Regions from separate parts of the Homo sapiens genome. Here region 1 is linked to region 2. Evidence: promoter capture Hi-C in 16 types of primary human blood cells and fetal thymus (Javierre and others, 2016). All regions are on one chromosome and are shown on one strand. Each heading gives the region's core, a stretch centred on a gene start or on the middle of the fragment in contact. The rest is flanking DNA. Distances are from core to core; before and after follow the strand shown.

Region 1 (5,119 bases), core at 623-3,122, 180 kb before region 2:
CACTTATACACTTACTGAGAATGTATGTTGGTATAACCTTTATAGAAAACATTTCTCAGAGAACTAAAAGCAGAACTGTTATTCAATCCAGCAGTCCCACTTCTGAGTATCTACCCAAAGGAAAAGAAATCATTAAACAGAAAAGATACTTGCACTCATATATTTGTAGCAGCATTGTTCACAATAGCAAAAAGTAAATCAACCTAAGTGTCCGTCAACGGAGGATTGGATAAAAAAAATGCGGTATATATACACACGCACACACACCATGGAATACTACTCAGCCATAAAAAATGAAATGATAGCTTTTGCAGCTATGTGAATGGAACTGGAGGCCATTAACCTAAGTGAAATAACTCAAAGTCAAATACTACATGTTCTCACTTATAAGTGGGAGCTAAACAGTGGGCACACATGGACATACAGAATGGACTAATAGACAGTGGAGACCATAAAAGGTGGGAGGGTGGGAGGGAGGTGAGTTGAACATGTGTCTATTGGGTTTGTTCACTGTTCAGGTTATAGGTACACTAAAAGCCCGTACTTCACCATGACATAATATATACATGTAAGAAATACGCATTTGTGCCCCCTAAGTTATTTTTTAAAAGATAAATTATAGGAAAAGGAAAAAAATTACAAAATACAGGTAAACAAGGACAAACTCCCTATAATCTTGCCGCCTCCCAGAAGAATTCAACAGAGCCACAATTATAAAGGGAGTCACTGTTGGGTATGCAAGTAAAGCAAGAAAGCAGAAGAGAGAAGTTAAGAGAGCCCTGTTTATATGTCCTTAATTGTAGAACTTAAGACATTAAGGTGGTGATTTAGGGAGCCTTTGTCATGGTATATCAACATTTCAGACATGGAAAACCTAATCAAGCAGTAAAGTTCTATGTATATTTATTGTGTTATGTGCAGATTTGAGTTAGTGAATTATTGTTTATAAATCTATAACAATACCTTTAAAAGCCTTAAATTTTATTTTTGTCTTGGTAGTTTTGCTTGAACTGTATTATTTCTTGGCTTTTACATTTCAGGAAAAAAATAAAAATAGTGATGGAGGAAGTGACCCAGAAACACAGAAAGAAAAAAGTATTCAGAAACAGAATTCATTAGGTTCAAATGAAGAAAAATCGAAAACTCTTAAGAAATCAAACCCATATGGAGAATGGCAAGAAATTAAACAAGAGGTTGAGTCTCAGTAAGTACCTGGAGCTTTAATCCCACTGTTATTACAAGTGATTTTACATCCCAGTACTTCCCTAAATTGCAGTAAGTAATTTCAAGGATGCTGTGCTTATTAAAAGTATAGCTTGAGGCCAGATGCACCCCTGTAATCCCAGCACTTTGGGAGGCTGAGGTGGGCGGATCACGAGGTCAAGAGATGAGACCATCCTGGCCAACATGGTGAAACCCTGTCTCTACTAAAAATACAAAAATTAGCTGGGTGTGGTGGCATGTAGCTGTGATCCCAGCTACTCAGGAGGTGGAGGCAGGAGAATCGCTTGAACCCAGGAGGTGGAGGTTGCAGTGAGCTGAAATCGCGCCACTGGACTCCAGCCTAGCAGCAGAGCAAGACTCCATCTCGAAAAAGAAAAAGTATAGCTTGGCTGGGTGAGGTGGCTCACGCCTGTAATCCCAGCACTTCAGGAGGCCAAGGCAGGCAGATCAACTGAGGTCAGGAGTTCGAGACCAGCCTGGCCAACATGGCAAAACTTTCTCTCTACCAAAAAAAAAAAACTTAGCAGGGAATAGTGGCACACATCATGTTCCCAGCTACTTGAGAGGCTGAGGTGGGAGGATTACTTGAGCCCAGGAGGTTGAGACTGCAGTGAGCCATGTTCACACCACTTCACTCCAGCCTGGGCAACAGAGTAGGACCTTGTCTCCAAAAAAAAAAAAAAAAAAAAAATGTAAAAACTAAATAGATAAGCAAATATTGCAGCAACTCAAGTATTACTCAGCAAAGTACATTTCTATAGGATTCAGTGTTGCTATTTAGTTTTATAACTTAAAACAGCCTATGATAACTGATAGCAAAGAAGGTCCTTGCTGGCCAGGCAGGTGCAGTGGCCCACGCCTATAAGCCCAGTACCTTGGGAGGCTAAGGCAGGAGGTTCACTTGAGCCCAGGAGTTGGAGGCTGCTTTGAGCTATGATGGCACCACTTCACTCCAGCCTGGGAGACAGAGCAAGACTCTGTCCTAAAAAGAAAAAATCCTTGGAATAGATTGCCTTCTGCAGAGCTCCATTCTCCAAATAGGATGATGTGTGTTTTTCAACAGGTTTTACGCTCTCAGCTACTTAAACATAACGATCTTTCCGGTCCATTTTCCAGAGTCTCATAGATGGGACTGATGGGTGTGATGTGACTAATTTACTCTTTCACAGACCAGTTGACTATCTAGGGAGTACGGTACTGTGATAGGCTCTTTTTAATCAGGTGCTGATATCAGGACCACTCAACTGATTATTTATAATTAATCATGTGGATGGTTGAAGGGCTAGTTCTTAGCAAAGGAGTGCTAGGCATACAGCTCCATTCAGTCTTCTACAATAGGAAAATGAGATCTCGACTCGCTGCAACCTCTGCCTCCCAGGCTGAAGTGATCCTCTCACCTCAGCCTCTCGAGTAGCTGGGACTGTAGGCACATGACACCATGCCCAGATAATTTTTGTATTTTTTGTAGCAATGGGGTTTTGCCATGTTACCCAGGCGCATCTCGAAACTCCTGAGCTCAAGTGATCCTCCTGCCTCGGCCTCTCAAAGTGCTGGGATTACAAGATTGAGCCACCGCACCCAACCCCCTTATCCCTTTACTTGTACTGCTTATATATAAGCCCAAGCATTTTCTTAGATAATGCATCCTTTGTGCAACAGGAATAAATTAATACATAGAACTTCTCCCAGCATTTATCCACCTGAATAAGTGTTCAGTATCTTAAATAATATTGTAAAGTCAGTATTTTAAAGTAGTTCCTACTCCAAAATGAGCAACTTCTAATGTCATTAGAAAGCTGATCTTGGGGCATTGGTTATATGAAAACGTTTGTCTTACCCTGTCAAATAGAGTTTTACTTTAACTCTATTTCCAGTGAGGAGGTAGATTTGGAACTTCCAAGCACTGAAAATGAGTATGTATCAACTTCAGAAGCTGATGGTGGCGGAGAACCCAAAGTGGTATTTAAAGAAAAAACAGTCACTTCTCTTGGAGTTATGGCAGATGGAGTGGCCCCAGTCTTCAAAAAGAGAAGAACTGAAAATGGAAAATCTAGAAATTTAAGGCAACGAGGTGATGATCAATAGTTGCAGGAGAGCTTTTTGTACATGCTTTTAGGACAGAATGGAGACTTATACACCCAAAGTTTATCTGTGTTTGTTTGTAAGTATTATGATGCTAAAAATTTAGATTTATTCTAAATGTATTTGATGTGAATTAAAATAAATATTTTTTCATGTGAAATTTATTTTGGTTCCTAAAATGGAAGCCTACCACATTGCATTGTAATACAGTGTATTATGTTCAGTGTCTAAAAACTGCTAATTAAGTCATAATTTAAGATGCTATGTATCTGTTATTTAAAACATGGAGAAACAGGGCCTTTATTCCATTCATATTCATAAGAGCATATTTATCCTGCATTGAAAATGCATTACTTTTGCACATTGATATTAACTGTTGTCCAACAAATAAGTATCGGAGTACGTGAGAATATTCCCAGCCCAGTGATGATTTGGTTCTGAGGCTGATGTGAGAAAGCTGATGTAAAAAATGTATGCATATTGGCTTACCTTACTCAATTTAAAGTCAAAAGCCAACAGCCAGGAGCAGCTCAGGTACTTCAGATGTGCTTAATATGGAGTGAAAACTGGACCAGAGGTGGAAAGATGTATTTGCCCCAGTTCACTTCAAAGCAGCAAACGTTGTTTAAGCATTTTAGTTTGAACCAGGCATTGTGTTAGGAATCCAGGGATAAAGATGAATGAAATGTATTTCTGTTCTTCAGGAGTTCACATTCTAGCATATGCCTTTTTTCCCCCAGTCATGCACTCTTTTTAGCAGTCTTATATGTACTAGAAAAGATTTTTTAAAGTTTATTTAAAGCTGTGTAGATGAAGGCTTGATCTAAAATAGTATAAGGTCTCCAGCTTCAGTAAAAGTTTTTAGTGTTTACTTAAATTAGTAATTTCTCACTTTCTGTCTGGTTAAAATGTCTTAAAAAGTAGAATTTTCTTCTTTAATCCGTTTAGTAGTTACCTCCCTTTTACTTTTCAAATTCACAAAATTACATTTCTCATAAATTGTATAGTATTTAACTTATAATAGTTAATATTTGTCTTTTTAAGATGACTGTACATGTAAGAAAAAAGCTTATTAAAAACTTGATCAAAGAATAAGTTAAATATTGTTATTCTAATTCCAGTCAGAATCACCTTAGCATTGGTGAGATAGTATTTGGAGATTTGTCTTTGCATTTTTTCAGTCTACTTTTTGGGTATTTTATGAATGTGAAAGCCTAAACTTTCCCCTTCATTAGGAAGAGATACTTAATAATTCTTGATAGCCCATTCATCATCTAGGTGAGCAGTGCATTCTGGTGCTTTACTCTTCTCAGGTGGAAAAAATAATGGACTGTAAATGCAGTGGTCCTATACTTTACCCACATTTAGCTCTTAAAAAATACAAAATTGAAGGCATTTTTAAGATTAGACCTCATGTAAAGTTTCTCTTTGATGATTTTTAAAACAATCTCCTTTACTTTTGAAAGTAGTATTCTCAAAAACTGAAAGCAAGGTAAATCTCCGTAAACAGTATGGTTATAAAGATTGCTCAGAAAAGACTTGATAATAACAAACACCAATATTTTAGTAAATCAAGTCATGAAAAATAGTAATATTCCATCTGCTTTGGAGGGATAGAGAACATAACAGCTTTTAACTTACTTGGATGTTTTCATAAGTGTTTGATATCATTTCCACTATTACTTTTCGATCGATCGATAGATAGATAATGAAAGTAATTTTTTAATAAATATAAAAATCCAAATAATAGAGAAATAAGTTTTTAGAAAATCTCAGTAATCTGTCATCCCCTCTCCATGACCACTATGGGGTT
Region 2 (5,401 bases), core at 1,527-4,026:
ATCAAGATGTATCTGTCTAAATTGATGAGAATGGAGCTGGATGTGACACTGGAGGTAACCATTAAGAGATGGATGTCTAAAAAGCCAAACACACAGGTGACGATTCATCTCAGCATCTGAAATACAATAAACACAGTCTTTAAAAAAAAATCATCTCTAAAGATACATGCATAATAAACCTGGAAGGAACATCAAGAAATCTTGTTTCATCTACTGCCTCAGCCAGCTCCACAGTCTTAAAATTCAACTGCCGGCTGGCAGCAGTGGCTCACGCCAGTAATCCCAGCACTTTGGGAGGCTGAGGCAGGCGGATCACCTGAGGGCAGGAGTTCGAGACCAGCCCAGCCAACATAGTGAAACACTGTCTCTACTAAAAATACAAAAATTATCCGGGCGTGGTGGCAGGCGCCTGTAATCCCAGCTACTCAGGAGTCTGAGGCAGGAGAATTGCCTGAACCCAGGAGGCAGAGGTTGCAGTGAGCCGAGATCATGCCATTGCACTCCAGCAAGGGGGACAATACCAAGACTTCGTCTCAAAAAAAAAAAAAATTCAGCTGCCTACAGAAAGAACATAATTCTTCAAATGTATGAATAACATATTAAAATAAATAAAAACAGCACTGCTTCCTACCTGTTCAACATATATAATTAACTGAAGCATATGAGTAGGAGTACAACTAACAAATATATCAATTGAATGAGTTAAGTCAGTTATTTTCTAGAAAGTATCTAGAATCTAGAATTGAGTGTGTAAACAAGCTCTTGAAAGCTATGAAAACATACAAACTTAAGGCGGTTCATAAAGTCATTTTCTAAAGTTTGAAGAAAATATTATTATCTTGTATAATTCTTTAACTTTAAGGATCTAGATATCCAAGGAAGTCAAGTAACTTAATCACGACTATTCAGTCGGCTGGATGGAGACAGAGCTGGTATTAGAATGTAAGTTGCCTGTTCAGGACTCAGTAATTTTCACTCTCAATTGTGCAATCACTTTTCAAAAATGCTTCCCGTTTAGCTGAGATCCTAAAGGAAGAAAAGTTCAAGTATTAATAGACCAAGAAAGTAGGGCTGGTGAAAAGCTCTACAGTTATATTAAATGGTGACAATTATATTAAGCAAGAAAGGCAAGGAACAAAATAGAATCTCAATTACATTTAAAAAATATTCTACAATATAAGGTATACATGTAAAAAAAAAAAAGCACATAGAGTATTTTTTAAAAAGAAAGTTAAATAAGAAACATACCAAAATGTGCCGAGCACAGTGGCTCACGCCTGTAATCCTACCACTTTGGGAGGCCGAGGCGGGCAGATCATCTGAGGTCAGGAGTTCGAGACCAGCCTGGCCAACATGGGAAAACCCCATCTCTACTAAAAATACCAAAAAAATTAGCTGAGCGTGATGGCACACACCTGTAGTCCTAGCTGCTCGGGAAGCTGAGGCAGGATAATCGCTTGAACCTGGGAGGCGAAGGTTGCAGTGAACTGAGATCGCACCACTGCAACCAGCGTGGGCGACAAAGCAACACGCTGTCTCAAAAAAAAAAAAAAAAAAAGAAACATACCAAAATGTTAATAAAATGATCTCTAGTTGTGAGATTATGAATACCTTTTGCTTGCTATTTTTTCTACTTTTCAGTGTTTTCCAAGTTTCTTGCACATGTAGCATGGAATACTTTCCTAATCATAAAAAAAGATTAGTTTAAAAAATTACAGGTTAGGTGAAATTGGCTGTGTACAATAATTTTCTGTTCTCCTCCCCTCCAACAGAGATAATCAAGAGCTAACAAAAGTACACAATGGTCTTACTGAGTAAGAAAGGGAGAATATAAAGTGTTCTAAGAAAACTCTAAGGTTCAAAGTTGAAATAAGGGTCAAGCCACGCACAGTAGCATGCACCTATTGTCCCAGCTACCCAGGAGACTGAGGCAGGAGGATCACTTGAGCCAAGGAGTTCAAGGCCAGCCTGGGCAACACAGTGAGACTCAACTCAAAAAAAGAAGGATCAACATTTATCAAAATCAAACTTTACTGTCTCCAGTGATCCTACTATGCTAGGAGGTGCATTGATATATTAGCTCATTTGTTCACTATAAGTCTGTTAACTTAGCATTATCACCTAGGAAATAAAATAGTCAGAATGGTCTTTAAAATATTCAGTTTCCAGAGTTCTACTGATAGATTTTAGGATACTGCATCACATTATTAAAAGAACTGTTGAAGAAAGCACCAATGGCCAGCTGTCACAAACGTTACACTCCACCACCCCCGTATTTCAAGCACGTTAGAGAAAGTGTATCCATTTGCTAACAGACAGAATAAAAGGATGACAAATATATGTTTGTACGAATACTTATTGCTAAAATTTCCATTTTAGGAACAGTAGTAGAATGCATAATTTTCAAGGTCATGAATCTCAACATTAAGGAAAACAAAACAAAACAAGATGTTTACTCTCCAAGGTTAACTACACCTGAGAACAGCACGACTTCTCCATTACCCATCACAGTAACAGTATTACTCTGATGCTTTGGGGAAAGTTCTGAGTGTAGGCAGGTCAGAAGCGACAGCCCGCGGGGCAGCAGCACGGGCAAACCATGCTGTGTAACTCAGTATATGGAGTGATTCCATAAAGAGGCAATACAGGAGGCGGCGGGGAAGATCAGGAAAGAACTGTGAGTACCTAAGAAAAAGAAGAATACACGTTAGCTCTCTTTACTGAGGTCGGAACCTTCCGAGACCCGCCACATTTCAGCCCGACAAACCCGAGATCACGTTCACTTCCTGGTTCACTTCTTCCGGGTTAACGCACGCTCCCGGCCCCTCCTCCGCCACTACCGCTCTCCGGAGGAGTTGTCCTCGAGCATGCCTAACAATGGACTAAAATGACAAAAATGAGCTAAATGAGAAAAATGACAAAACGAGAATGAAATTGTCATCAGACAACCGCCCCCGCGCCGTCCTTATCCAGAGCGTGAGCCCAGAGCGGGGATGGAGATGGTGGGAGGGAGGGAGGGAGGGAGGGGCCAAGGTGGGACTAAACTACAACTCCCAGAGCGCCCACCAAAGAATCCTGGGAGTTGTAGTTTACCTTGCGGCAGCCTCCAACCCCCTCCACTCACTATCCAGCCAAATGTGGAGTTTTTGGTTTTCACCGTTAACTGCAAACCTAGAAGAGAGATTCTTTACGATTCTGATTAAGAGATCAAGATTTAGAACACATTGCATGTGAAATTACAATAATTTCCTTATGTATTAGAAGCCCGTAAAGCACTGTTTTCCAATATTTAAAAAAAATAAAGACTCCTTTTACATCATCCACAAATGTAGAAGATTCTGCGTGTAATTTCTATACTTTCAGCTTCCATTGCTTCAGAAAATACCTAATGACTAAAGGATAATACAAATAAATTTATATTTTAAAAGTAGTAACAGCCCCAAAAGTTAGGAGACCGTGTATTTCCACATGTTAGTGATTTTATAATGTTCTTTGCACATGGGAATGTAGGGGCTCAACCTAGATTCATAGCTTATGAACCACTGATTAAGTGAAGAATGAAAACTCCAGTTAATAAACAATTGCAGGAAAATGCAAGCATATTGTCCTACTTTGACTAATCCAGTGGGATCCAGCCCTTGGCTATCGCAATTTACAGTCTTTCTATCTCCATGCCTCAATTTTTCTTCCTGAAAGAAAAGGCAAAAAATGTACCATATTACTGACTTTACAGAGTATTTTCTTAGATTATAATCACATACATAGATAGGAGAATTAGCTATATATGCAAAATAATATCTAACGTTTATAGCCAACTTCAAGGTACCTACTTCTATGTACTATGTACTAAATACTGTTCTAAATGGTTTTACCCTATTAATTCATTTAATTTTTACAACCTTAAAATACTTATTTTGCAGAGGAGAAAATTAAGGCACACAGAGCTAAAGTAACTACTCCAAGGTAAAAAACAGTAAGTGATAGAGCCAAGACTCAATTAAGGCAATGGCTTTAATGATCTGTGGCTCCTAAGCTCTGATATAGGGCCACCCTGCTCCAAAAAAGAAAAAACCTTCAATCATGTATTCAATAAATAGTGAACACCAGTTATGTGCTATTCACTATTCTAGTCATGAGGATTTAGCAATGAACAGAAAAGACAAAAACCTTTGCCCACATGGAGCTTATGTTCCAGTAGGGGAAAAGTTTCAAAGGGTCTACATAAAGTCATTCTCCTAAGTTATCCAAAAAGTTCTTTAATTATTTATTCTGATTTGTGCTTTCAGCTATATAACTTGAGTATTATATATAAAGCTTTATTCTCCTTAAAAAATTAGTCTTAGTCGGGCGTGGTGGTTCACGCCTGTAATCCTAGCACTTTGGGAGGCCGAGCCAGGTGGATCACCTGAGGTCAGGAGTTCGAAACCAGCCTGACCAACATGGAGAAACCCCATCTCTACTAAAAATACAAAATTAGCTGGGCGTGGTGGCTCATGCTTGTAATCCTAGCTACTCGGAGGCTGAGGCAGGAGAATCGCTTGAACCCAGGAGACAGAGGTGGCAGTGAGCCAAGATTGCACCATTGCACTCCAGCCTGGGCAACAAGAGTGAAACTCCGTCTCAAAAAAAAAAAAAAGTAGTCTTACTGCTATGGACTGAATTGTTTATATTCATAATCATGTGCATATTACTAATATTTATTTTTAAAATTCATATATTGAAGCCCTAACCCCTCCAATACATGTGTCTGTATTGGAGATAGGGCCTTTAAGGTGATTAAGGTCAGATGAGGTCGTAAGAGTAGAGCCCTGACATAATAGGATTAGTGCCTTTCTAAAAAGGCACCAGAGATCTTGCTCACTGTCCCTGCCCAAACAAAGAAGAGGTTACGTGAGTACACTGTGAGATGGTGGCCACCTACAAGCCAAGAGAAGAGGTATCAGACTGAAACCTACATTGCTGCCACCTTGATGTTAGACTTCCCAATCTCGCAAGAGGCTAAGAAACAAATTTCTGTTGTTTAGGCCACCCAGCTGGTGGTTTTTTGTTTTTTTGTTTTTTTGTTTTTTGAGGTGGAGTCTCGCTCTGTCACCAGGCTGGAGTGCAGTGGCCTGATCTTGGCTCACTGCAACTTCTGTCTCCCGGATTCAAGCAATTCTCCTGCCTCATCCTCCCAAGTAGCTGGGACTACAGGTGCACACCACCACGCCCAGCTAATTTTTGTATTTTTAGTAGAGATGGGGTTTCACCATGTTGGCCAGATGGTCTCAATCTCTTGACCTTGTGATCTGCCCACCTCAGCCTCCCAAAGTCCTGGGATTACAGGCATGAGCCACCACACCTGGCTTTTATTTTTTTTTAAATAGAGATGGGGGTCTCACTATGTTGACTAGGCTGGTCT

What was found. The method cuts DNA at HindIII sites, captures the fragments that hold promoters and counts their contacts. A CHiCAGO score of 5 or more calls a contact.
Region 1: a fragment that was not itself captured here is called in contact with the fragment with the promoter of MTRF1 in region 2 in 1 of 17 cell types (megakaryocytes); the score reaches 5.2 in megakaryocytes.

Annotation. Positions count from the first base shown.
Region 1 is chr13:41,079,606-41,084,724 of GRCh38, forward strand. WBP4 (WW domain binding protein 4) reads left to right here. Exons shown (of 10, transcript NM_007187.5): 9 at 1,041-1,204; 10 at 3,099-4,401. The coding sequence ends at 3,309. Among named protein-coding and RNA genes, the nearest start is that of MIR3168, 19 kb to the right of the region's middle. The HindIII fragment of the contact is 4,999 bases long and covers 1-4,372 here.
Region 2 is chr13:41,260,800-41,266,200 of GRCh38, forward strand. MTRF1 (mitochondrial translation release factor 1) reads right to left here and starts at 2,777. Exons shown (of 10, transcript NM_004294.4): 1 at 2,686-2,777; 2 at 1-116. The coding sequence starts at 108. RefSeq lists an enhancer at 2,195-2,695 and a silencer at 2,983-3,072. The HindIII fragment of the contact is 4,724 bases long and covers 1-4,312 here.